Linked DNA regions of Homo sapiens: regions 1, 2 and 3 are each linked to region 4. Evidence: promoter capture Hi-C in human tissues and cell types (Jung and others, 2019). All regions are on one chromosome and are shown on one strand. Each heading gives the region's core, a stretch centred on a gene start or on the middle of the fragment in contact. The rest is flanking DNA. Distances are from core to core; before and after follow the strand shown. Region 1 overlaps LOC105372809 (a long non-coding RNA gene). Region 2 has its middle 16 kb from the start of TMPRSS2. Region 3 overlaps BACE2 (beta-secretase 2). Region 4 holds the start of MX2 (MX dynamin like GTPase 2).

Region 1 (2,700 bases), core at 198-2,697, 210 kb after region 4:
TGGATGGATGGGTGGATGGGTGGATGGATGGATGGATGGATGGATGGATGGATGGGTGGATGGGTGGGTGGGTGGATGGAAGGATGGATGGATGGATGGGTGAATGGATGGATGGATTCCATCTATTCTTGTAAGGATTGTAAGCCTTGCCAGTCATGGCTTGGATGCCACTTTTAGAGACTAGTTTCCATCTTCACTGGGGCTGTCTCATGAGTTACTACAATCCTTGTCAGTCTTTCATGCTTGAGTGACAGTGAGTGTCAGCTCACCCCTGTCCTGAAAGCTAAGACTTTCACATAGAAAGAAGGGTCCCTAGCGACTGAGGGTTTAAAGTGCCAGGAGGAAGTGGAAGGGCCCTGCAGACAATCTGTGTCCAGGGTCCAAACTTTTCTCTGTCAGCCCTGCCCCATTTGCAAGCCCCAGAGCAGCAACCTGGAAGAGCAGAGCCATAAAGAGCGGGGCTCCTAGAAGGGAGCGAGCCTGGCTTCAGGATCAACTTTTCTGCTGGGGCAGATGGCGGCATGCAACCGAGGTCCTAGGGCACGGATGTAAGCATGTATGAGAGGTCCTCCTGGGGACCTGGAGGGGCTTCGTGAGTGTCTGGGATCTGCCCTCCTCTGAGGTCTCTTCCTGGAGGGAGAATAACACACCTGCACTTTGTCACCCAAGGCCAGTCCGCTTCCGTCACCCTTGCCCCCAAGTCCCGCTTCCTCATGACGGAGTACCAAAAGCATGGGCCACTCGTGCCTTCAGCAATTGTTTATGTGCCAGGCACTGTCTGGGCAGCAGGATGTCGCTGCGAGCCCTCTCCCAACACCTGCCGCGCATGTACTGTGCCCGCGACTTCGCCGCGGCTCAGTGGGTGGGTCCAGTCCTTCCAGCCCTCGCCATCCTCCCCACCACAGATTCTGCCTCCTGGCACCTTTGCCTTGCCCAGCAGGCTGTGAGGCTTCGCATAGACGCTGCCACCCACCCGCATCCTCCTAATGTGACTGTAGATTGCCTCAAGCAAAGCTTTAAGAGCACACATCCACATTCGTTCTTGGACCTAATCTTTGCTCAATTGGTCTGGATTTGGGATATGAACTCTTTGGTTTTGAACACCCTGGGACCACAAGCCAGTTGTAAATGCTCATGACAGCCAGAAAGGCCTGGAACAGGAGGAACATAAAAAACAAGAAGGAGAGCAGAGGGTGGGCTGTCCCAGAGGAAGAGAAGTGACAGGAGGCTGGCACCTCCTCCAGACGAGGGCTGGACAGGGTGCTGCACAGATTGTCCAGGTATGGAGCAGAACCAAAACCTAACAAAGGCCAGGAGGGACCAGAGCCGTTTGGGAAAAGTGGAAGCAGTTTGGCGTCGCTGGTATTTTCTGGGTGTCTCGAGATGAGATGCAAGCTGATATTATATTAGACGCATTTGAATTGTAGCTTAGAGTGTCAGACTATTTTACAATGCTTTAAAATTCTAGCTTTGTTTCACAACGTTCCTATAAAGCAGACAGGGAGCACTGTTTTCATTTTATGGACTGAGCCAAGCACACGGCCGACTCGCTCCCGGTCAGGTAGAGTTAGAGAATGAGCAGAGATGCAAACTCTGCAGCTGCTGCTTCCCAGTGTTGGCAAAGTCCACAGGATGGGTCCTTCCAGGCTGGGGCCTTGGGCTTGTCACCGCCTCCTTTCCAGACCCCACCCTCGGGCCCCCTAGGATGCAAGGGGGAATGAGCAGAGGGGCCCAAGGAAATGGGGGACCCAGCTAAACAAGAGGAGCTGACAGAGCTGCTGGGAGTGGGAAAGGAAAAATCTCAGCCTTTGCCCAGGAAGCATCCGAGGCACCCAGACTGCAGGACATCTTCCAGTCACTCTCAATGGCCACCCACCCCTCAGGTGCACCCCCTGCCACTCATATGAAGCTGGAACACACAGATATCCATATCCAAAAAAATGAGCCTCCCCTCCCTTATACCAGATACAAAATTTAATTCAAGTGAATTATTGACTTAAACGTAATAATGAAAACTATAAACTCCTACATTTGGGCAGGCAAAGATTTTTTAGGCAGCACACAGAAAGCACCAGATTCTATCAAATAAAAATTATTAAGAAAATTAGGCTGGGTGTGGTGGCTCATGTCTGTAATCCCAGCACTTTGGGAAGCCAAGGCAGGAAGATTGCTTGAAGCCAGGAGTTTGAGACCCGCCTGGGCAAGATGGCAAGATCCTGTCTCTACAAAAAAATTTTTTCATTAGCCAGGCACTCCTGTAGTCTCCGTTACTTGGGAGACTGAGTCAGGAGGATCACTTGAGCTCAGGAGTTTGAGGCTGCATTGAGCTGTGATCACGCCACTGTACTCTAGCCTGGGCAACAGAGAGAGATCCTGCCTCTAAAAAAAAGAAGAAAGCAGCCAGGTGCAGTGGCTCATGCCTGTAATCCCAGCACTTTGGGAGGCTGAGGTGGACAGATCACCTGAGGTCAGGAGTTCAAGACCAGCCTGGCCAACATAGCGAAACCCCATCTCTACCAAAAATACAAAAACTTAGCCGAGTATGGTAGCAGGCACCTGTAATCCCAGCTACTTGGGAGGCTGAGGCAGGCGAATTGCTTGAACCTGGGATGCGGAGGCTGCAGTGAGCCAAGACTGTGCCACTGCACTCCAGCCTGGGCAACAAGAGCGAAACTCCATCTCAAAAAAAAAAAAAAAAAA
Region 2 (2,700 bases), core at 146-2,645, 160 kb after region 4:
ATTGATGGGCATTTGGGTTGATTCCATGTCTTTGCTATTGTGAATAGTGCTGCAATGAACGTACACGTGCATGTATCTTTGTTATAGAATGACTGATATTCCTTTGGGTTTATACCCAGTAATGGGATTGCTGGGTTAAATCAAGCAGAGCATCTTTGTCATCATCTCGTCCCTTGGGAGTTCTCCACGGCCTGGGAGTTCCCTGCACTAGGAAGGGATGAGGAAAGGCAGCCAGGGGCTCCAGTGTGGGGCAGAGGGAGCTTGGAGGAGCCGCTTCTCCCTCCCCAGGACAGGAGCCCTGGTACCTGGCTCTGCCTGTGGCATGGGGCAGGGCAGTCCCATAGCAGTGGGGAGGGGATGGCCAGGGTGGAGGCCAAGGGAGGGCAGGCACCAGCAATCTGAACACCCTCTGTTATCCACCTCGGCTGGGGCCCATTTTGAAGAGGGTGTGCAAGATTTCATCTGCAAAATGGAGGCTGCTGCTTTCAAAGGTTTGAAAGTCCCTGCTGTTTGAGGAGAAGGCAGGGATAGATGAGACCCTGGAGGCATCGCAGACTCATCCAAAGAGCTTAGTTTGACCTCAGGGCAAGGGCATCCTGCAAGGGTTCAAGAGGGGAGTGACTTCCTTCCTCAATGTATGGATGTTGAATGTGCACCTCTGATTTCTCCTGCCCCCTCCCATCTTCTGCCCACCCCAGCCAGGTCCAGAGTAGGAAGGGGCACATGCCTGTGTTCTGGGGGATAAGACGTCAGTGTGGTTGGAAGCCCAGGAAACTAGTTTTAAAGCTTCATTTGCATAGAAAATAATCTACCTCTCCTATATTTTTAACATTTTACTAAAATTTGTTTCTAAATGAGTAGTACAGTTTTTATTATGTGTTTCAGAACACATTACCTACTGTCTGTCAAGAGAAAATAAAGTATATCTGTTGCCAAATGCAATTTTATTTCCAGAAAGGTGGCTCTGATAGAATGGACCTCACTGAAGCCCTCCCCTAAGGCTAGGACTTTGCCCTCCTCCACTCCCACCCAACAAAGAGGAGTCTCTTCAGGGGTGAAGATAATCAGGATCATATTTTTTTTCATTGCTTTGAAAAGGAGAAAAGTGAGAAACATTATTCCACTTAGAATAAGTTTTTGAAGACCTAAAATTCAAGGTTTTGTTCACAAGTCTTTTTTTTTTTTTTTTTTTTTTTTTTTTTTTTTGAGACGGAGTCTTGCTCTGTTGCACAGGCTGGAGTGCAGTGGCGCGATCTCAGCTCACTGCAAGCTCCGCCTCCCAGGCTCAAGCCATTCTCCTGCCTCAGCCTCCCGAGTAGCTGGGACTACAGGCGCCTGCCACCACGCCAGGCTAATTTTTTGTATTTTTAGTATAGACGGGGTTTCACCGTGTTAGCCAGGATGGTCTCAATCTCCTTGTGATCCGGCCGCCTCGGCCTCCCAAAGTGCTGGGATTACAGGCGTGAGCCATTGCGCCCGGCCGTTCACAAGTCTTTATAATCATAAAATAAGCTTTTTGATCCTTGTACATTTCTTTTTTCCAGCTAAAATACATGCAAGTAACTTTTTAAAAATAGGTTAAGCCGGCTGGGCGTGGTGGCTCACGCCTGTAATCCCAGCACTTTGGGAGGCCGAGGCAGGAGGATCACGAGGTCAGGAGATCGAGACCATCCTGGCTAACATGGTGAAACCCCATCTCTACTAAAAATACAAAAAAATTAGCCCGGTGTGGTGGCGGGCGCCTGTAGTCCCAGCTACTCGGGAGGCTGAGGCAGGAGAATGGCTTGAACCTGGGAGGCGGAGCTTGCAGTGAGCCGAGATTGTGCCACTGCACTCCAGCCTGGGGAACAGAGCAAGACTCCGTCTCAAAAAAAAATAATAATAATAAGTTAAGCCAACCGGGCAATCTCGGATGCTCCCACGGTGCTCACGCTTAAACGCCTTTGAGGCTCTGGGTCACTCTGGGGCTACCAAAGCCTTGACGGCCAGGCACTGCTTCTGCTGCTGCACTTACCCAGCCCCTGCCCCTTCCATCTCCTCCCAGTCCCAAAACCCCGCTGCCCAGTCAGAGAGTCCACTTAGGGAACTGCACCTGTTTTCTGTTTGTTTTGTTTTTTCCTGAAAATGGCTGGCCCAAAGGAAGGCTCATAAAACCCTTGAATCTCTGTGTTTGCAGAGAAACAAATATGAAGTGTAGCTAAAGAGGGACTGAGCAAAGGGTCCGTGAAACACGCAGATCCATAGGGATGGGGGCGACAAGCTTCCGTGCTGAACAGGAGCGACCCTGGGGTGGCTGCCCGTCGCAGATGGCTAGGTCACTCCTCTTTCATTTCTTCAGGGACAAAGAAGCACTACACTGTGAGCCTGCTGTTATCACTCCCAACATCTGGTCAGGAAGCAAACCAACTGATCAAGGAGCAACATAGTTCATCCTACTTGAGCACCTCTACTTCCAGATTTTGGGATATGTAACATGCTGAGAACAAGTTAATTATCTATGCACATATATGTGTATGTGTGTATGCATGTGTATACACATACGTGTACAAACAGGCATATATACAGTATGTATACATAAATATAAATATAGTTAAATATATATTTATATTTATAAATATATAGTTAAAGATTCAAATACACAAGTGCCCATTTTTCCCATTGGTTTTTGGAAACTGTAGCTGCTTTAGCCAATCTGTCCTT
Region 3 (2,700 bases), core at 194-2,693, 180 kb before region 4:
GCAGAAGGGCGGAGATCTGTTTTCCGTAACTACTTCCTGCTGAGTTTATGGACGTAGGCCCTGCCTGGCACTGGAGGAGTAAAAATCTCTGGATACCTGATCTAAGGAGCCCAGAGGCAGGACGATTTCATTCTCCGTGTCAGTGGACAGGATGGGCTGGAAGCCTTGTGCCAGCATTGTCTCTGGAACTGTGGTAATCTAGAATACACAAACTTTACTAAGAGGTTAAAGAAGCAAGGACCAAACATTTGTAACAAGACAGTTGTCAAAGGTCCTAGAAGAGGTGAAAAACAGGTGAGACTTGGGAAGGCACTTTTGATGGTTGACCAGATATAGTTGGGGGCAGTGCCCTGGTTATATCTATGTAACTAGGTAGCTTGCTCATAGATCTTTTGAATGTTAACCTCAACCTGTCCAGAGTTAATATATGTGCAGCAGGTTTTATTAATAACTGCACAAGACCCCACCTTGTTCAGCTAGTAAATAATCCAATGCTAGTCTGTTATCAACAACTACATTTTCCAGAGTCTGGGGAACTCTTGAATTCTCTTTAATGCCTGATCTCCGTTGGTGGCTAAGGATTCTAGGATTTGAGCCAAGTTCTTTAGCGTTAACTCATGGTAGGCAAAGCCACCCCAGGGTGCTGCTAGTCCTATTGCCACCCTGATTCCTGCCAGAATTAGTTTTATTGCTTACTTATTTCTGATATTCTTGGGTCCTAGGCGTTATAGATTGTGACCCCTGGAGGGGTAAGAGTGGCCAACGTTCATTCATGTCAGTTCCAAGTTTTTTAGATACAAGGGAAAGCTATTCCTTAAAGAAGAGGTGACTCCTTAGGGAGTTGGAGTGGTTACAGGGTGTGACTTCTTCCCATTCATAGTCACAAACAAAAATGAACCCAACTAGGGCACCAAGAGAAGCCCTGCGGGGTGCGATGTTTATACTTCATTGCCAGGTTGGGTCTATAGAGATATTTTCCACCTGTTCTCATGGTGGTGGTTGAACAATCTTTGTTTTCTAGAAGAAGGTAGTACTGTCACCTTCCCAGATCAGGCAGTTGTTTTTCCTTTGTATGTTCCCATCCGGGAGAAGGTACCATATATGGTCTTTTCACTCACAAATGGAATCTCATTTACCTCCCCGTGGTCTTGGAAACTTGGCAACTAGAGTTGGACCAGAGCATCGCAGGGAAGCTTCCACTTTTGTGTCATTAATGCAAGAGTGGATGCAAATGTTAGAGTTATGAGTGCACTGGAGATATAGATGCCCAACTTCCCAGATTCCGATAATAGTGGTCAGGGCAGGGGGACAGCAGGGTCCAGGGGGGATCCACTAAGTGGGGAAGAGTTCCACTTCACAATAGGGGTTTGGGTATTTTGGGGTGCTATGGTTAGTTAGGAGGTCTGGGGACATGGTCCTGAGATTTTCCAGATAGGTCGGAAGATGAAACTGTCTATCCTGGGGGTGTTGATGACAAATCTGGCAGCCATAAAGATGATTCTATGATGCTATAATTTTTGAAATATTTACTGTAGAATTTTGTCCACCCTCCCTGTCCACATACACACTAGCTTAGGTTAATTAGAAGAGCAAACAGAATTAACAGTGGCATCATGGTATCTGGTTGGGTCTTAGAGTAGCTTCTATACCCAACAAGCCCACAGGAGATGTTTCCCAGGAGGAGGTGGCTGGTTAAAGCCATAGAAAGGAAGTACTACAGTCAGGAAGAAGAGCAAGATCAATGCTCCTATTCCCATCTACAGCATTACATTACCTCTTCTGGCTGAGTGTTGATTATTTTAAATAGGTAGCAGAGGTCTTCCAAAGCTTTACTGATATTGGTTGTGGTTGTAGTGCCCTTCCTTTGTGCCTGTGACTCATAAGAAACAGGTTTAGTCCTGGATCTGTGTGCCCAAGTAGGTGTTCCCTGAAGTTTAACAGCAGTGGGGGTACTTAACAATACCTGATAAGGCCCCTTCCATTTCATTGTAATTGATTCTTGGGGTATCCCTGTCTTTACCCTGTCTTTAAGGTTTTAGCAAGACTAAGTCTCCTGGTTGAACCGGGGAGCTATTTTTTCCTTTGTGGGGAAGGACAGTATTTTATTTTTATATTGGAGGGCCTTTTGAACCTGTCCTAAATTCTAAAGGGGAGGGGGGAAGGTTCATATAGGTAATTACTACAAGCCAAGACCACAGCAGCTCAACACATAAAATCCATAGACAAATCAGTTTTACAACCCCATTTCCTGGCTTCTAGTTCTTGGCTTCCATACTGCTCAAAAGGAGTTCAAGGGCCAATGAGTGCCCGCCCACCTCCACACTCATGCACTGTGCAGATGACTTACACAGACCATCTACAACATAGCTGAATTTCCTGACATGTTCTATACTACCTCTTTCTTAAAGTTATTTTACTCTAGGATAGGGAATTTACTATACAGGATTCCTCCACATATAAAATTACTCTTTCTTTATATCCTTCCTTGCAAAACAAACAAAAAATACATTTTCTATTCATAATATTCTTTACATCTCTCTTTTCTACTCACTGGTTCACTCATGTTTTGAACCTCCCATTTAGTAACTTCCGGATTAGACAAAAAATTTTTTCTCAATAAAGAATACATTTCTTTAGCACATTTTATGGAAACCTAGGAAGGAAGAAGTCATGAACTTCACACTAGACATTGTCATTCTA
Region 4 (2,700 bases), core at 71-2,570:
GCCGGCCCAGGCCCTGTTGTGAAAGACATTCCTAGTGAAACCGAATGTCACATCACGCTGCCAAGTCTGAGATTCACATTCCTCCCCTCACTCCTCAGCCTCTGTCCGCCCGGGCTCTTGGGAAGAGAAGTGGTTCAGGGATAGGTGATCCTGACGATGATCTCCTGGTGTTAATATTTCTAATGCCAAGGTTTTGAAAAACATGTTAAGTTTCTAAATATCTTCCGTAAAGTTAAGCCTGCACTCAAGGGAAGTCACTACAATGACTTAGCCAAGAGGAGCTCAGGAGTTTTTTTAAACGTATAGTGTTGATGTCTGGGAGAGGATCACGGGTGGATAGGAGAGCTGAGAGCCTGCTTCCTCCCTCCCAGCCATCACTGCCAGTCCTTGAGAGGCTTGGTCCCCTCCCCGGTGTCTGGAGGGCTCCTCCTGGAGGTTCCCAGACCTCTTGGCTCTGGTGATGGGAATGCCTGGCCCTCCTTGACTTTGGTCACAGAGCAGGAAGCCTTAGGGAGCATGCGGTTGTGCACCTTCACTTTTGCAGGTGAAAAGTAACTGAGGACCAGAAAGATGACATGCAGCTGGCTCAGGGCTGAGTTCCGGAGCCTGGGGTTTGTCCTGGGGCCTCCTTATCTCCAATGGGAAGAAAACCGTCTTGGTTTTGCGGCGGGGACCTCAGGCACGGGTGCTTGGAGAAAGCTGTTGACCCTCCTTCTTTGGGTTTTCCGCACCTAATGAGGGGAGAGGTGACATTTGTCAGGTGCGGCTCAGGCATGAAGCTAAGCAGGACAGCTCAGAGCGTCCAGATCATGTACCTGAGAGCATGTCCTCGGCTGTAACAGGAGTGCATCTGTGAGGCCCGATACACGAACCACACGTGGCTATTCATTCAAATTACATGGAGTTCGAAGTCCAGTTCCTTGGTCGCAGTAGTCACATTTCAGAGCCACACAGGTGGTACTGGATGGCACTGTCAGGGCAGAACCTTCCAGTGACTGAGCCACTCTGAGCTGCCCCCATGCCAGCCTCCCCTGGAATCTGTTAGCAATGCTGATTCTCAGGCCCAGCCCAGACCTGACAGATCAGACTCTCTGGCGGGGGTGGGGGGACAGCCGCCCCGTCTCCACAGCTCTCCCAGGATTCGGATGCAGCTGGAGTTTGGGGACCACTCTGTGAGTCATCTGGAGAGCACGCTGATAACTCAGTTTCATTTCTGTGGCCAGATCAAGTAGTTTCATTTCTCTCCCTGTTTGTTGATGACGGAGCAGGGGAGGGAGTGGTTCATATGCCACATAAAAGTGAAGTGGAGGAAAGGGAAGAGATGATTTCTCCATCCTGAACGTGCAGCGGTAAGAGCGGGGCCGGTGCAGGGAGGGCTGCTTTGTGTCTGATGCACAGCAGATGCGTGTTTAAAAAATATTTCCTGAGTAACGTGACATCTGCTTGGTGAATGTGGCTTGTGCTGGGAGGCAGGAGCCACAAAGATAAGATTCTGGTGTGAGGAGCAGAAAGGGCCCATGTTGCCACCAGCCCACAGTAGCCTTGTGCACAGACAAAGAGGCTCTGGAGGGGAAGTGGCTGGCCCTGGGGACAGGGTGGCCTCCATCCTGATCTGGCCAAAAGTCGGGTGGACGCAAAGGGGTGGTTTTTAGGACAGCTTTGCTCAGCGTCCTACAAAGTCTGGGGGTTGAGTAAGGAGCTTTGTGCCCGAAAAGTCGTCTCGGAGGGTTTCAAGTGTTCCTTCTTTTGTGGTATTTGTGATGCTCTGACGTAACCTTAGTGACGGTGATATGCTGGGAAATTGGCTCTCATGGGGCGGGGCAGGGCAGAGGGTGGTGCCTGATTTCTAGCCTTTGCCGATTCTCTTCCGTTCTCATGGTGTGAATGCTCCCACCGTGGCCAGTTCCCAGCCAGTAGGGGCCAACTCCAGCACTCTGGACCACTGCACCCTGGATCGCCTGCACTCTGGGGGCTGAAGTCCATTTTATAATTGATATAGAGCGGAAAGGAGACATGGTGGTATTGATGACGCAGTTTTTTTTTCTTTTTTTTTTTTTTTTTTTTTTTTTTGAGAGAAGTTCTCGTTCTGTTCCCCAGGCTGGAGTGCAGTGGCGTGATCATGGCTCACTGCAGTCTCAAGCTCCCGGGCTCAAGGGATCCTCCCACCTCAGCCTCCCAAGTAGCTGGGACTACAGGTGTGCACCACCACACCTGGTTAATTTTATTTCTTTTTGTAGAGACAGGGGCTCTCTATGTTGCCCAGGCTGGTCTCAAACTCACTGGCTCAAGAAGTCCTTACGCCTCAACCTCCCAAAGCACTGGGATTACAGGCGTAAGCCACCCCATTCGGCTTTGATGACACCTTTTGAACACTGTTCTTTCTCATTTTGTGTTTAGAATGTTGTCTCTAGCTGTTTAAAAAGATCAGGATTCCAAGCTATCTTTCCTCGCACCCTCTCCTCCGTTTACTCTGCTCTACTTCCCAGCCCCGCGCCAACCCCTGAAGCACTTTTGACTCCCTTCGGATGTACAATTTTTTTTTCTTTTTCTTTTTTGAGACAGGGTCTTCCTGCTCTGTTTCCCAGGCTGGAGTGCAATGGTACCATCATAGCTCACTGCAGCCTTAAACTTCCGGGCTCAAGTGATCCTCCTGCCTCGGCCTCCCAATGCATTGGGATTACAGGTGTGAGTCCCTGCGTC

The links. The method cuts DNA at HindIII sites, captures the fragments that hold promoters and counts their contacts. A contact is called where the count stands out against the background at its distance.
Region 1: a contact is called between a fragment that was not itself captured here and the fragment with the promoter of MX2 in region 4, in 1 of the 25 tissues and cell types used here (small bowel).
Region 2: a contact is called between a fragment that was not itself captured here and the fragment with the promoter of MX2 in region 4, in 2 of the 25 tissues and cell types used here (H1 embryonic stem cells and dorsolateral prefrontal cortex).
Region 3: a contact is called between a fragment that was not itself captured here and the fragment with the promoter of MX2 in region 4, in 1 of the 25 tissues and cell types used here (small bowel).

The regions. Positions count from the first base shown.
Region 1 is chr21:41,567,463-41,570,162 of GRCh38, forward strand. All of the region lies in intron 1 of LOC105372809 (a long non-coding RNA gene), which reads right to left. Among named protein-coding and RNA genes, the nearest start is that of PCSEAT, 12 kb to the right of the region's middle. RefSeq lists an enhancer at 1,119-1,692 and a cis regulatory region at 1,469-1,491. The HindIII fragment of the contact is 6,667 bases long and covers 1-2,700 here.
Region 2 is chr21:41,522,944-41,525,643 of GRCh38, forward strand. No RefSeq gene overlaps it. Among named protein-coding and RNA genes, the nearest start is that of TMPRSS2, 16 kb to the left of the region's middle. RefSeq lists an enhancer at 2,480-2,700. The HindIII fragment of the contact is 6,198 bases long and covers 1-2,700 here.
Region 3 is chr21:41,180,376-41,183,075 of GRCh38, forward strand. The region is part of intron 1 of BACE2 (beta-secretase 2); the gene reads left to right. It overlaps PLAC4 (placenta enriched 4), which reads right to left. Exons shown (of 1, transcript NR_148920.1): 1 at 1-2,700. Among named protein-coding and RNA genes, the nearest start is that of PLAC4, 3.5 kb to the right of the region's middle. RefSeq lists an enhancer at 1-149. The HindIII fragment of the contact is 3,473 bases long and covers 1-2,700 here.
Region 4 is chr21:41,360,707-41,363,406 of GRCh38, forward strand. It overlaps MX2 (MX dynamin like GTPase 2), which reads left to right and starts at 1,321. Exons shown (of 14, transcript NM_002463.2): 1 at 1,321-1,349. RefSeq lists enhancers at 746-1,005, 1,026-1,865. The HindIII fragment of the contact is 34,961 bases long and covers 1-2,700 here.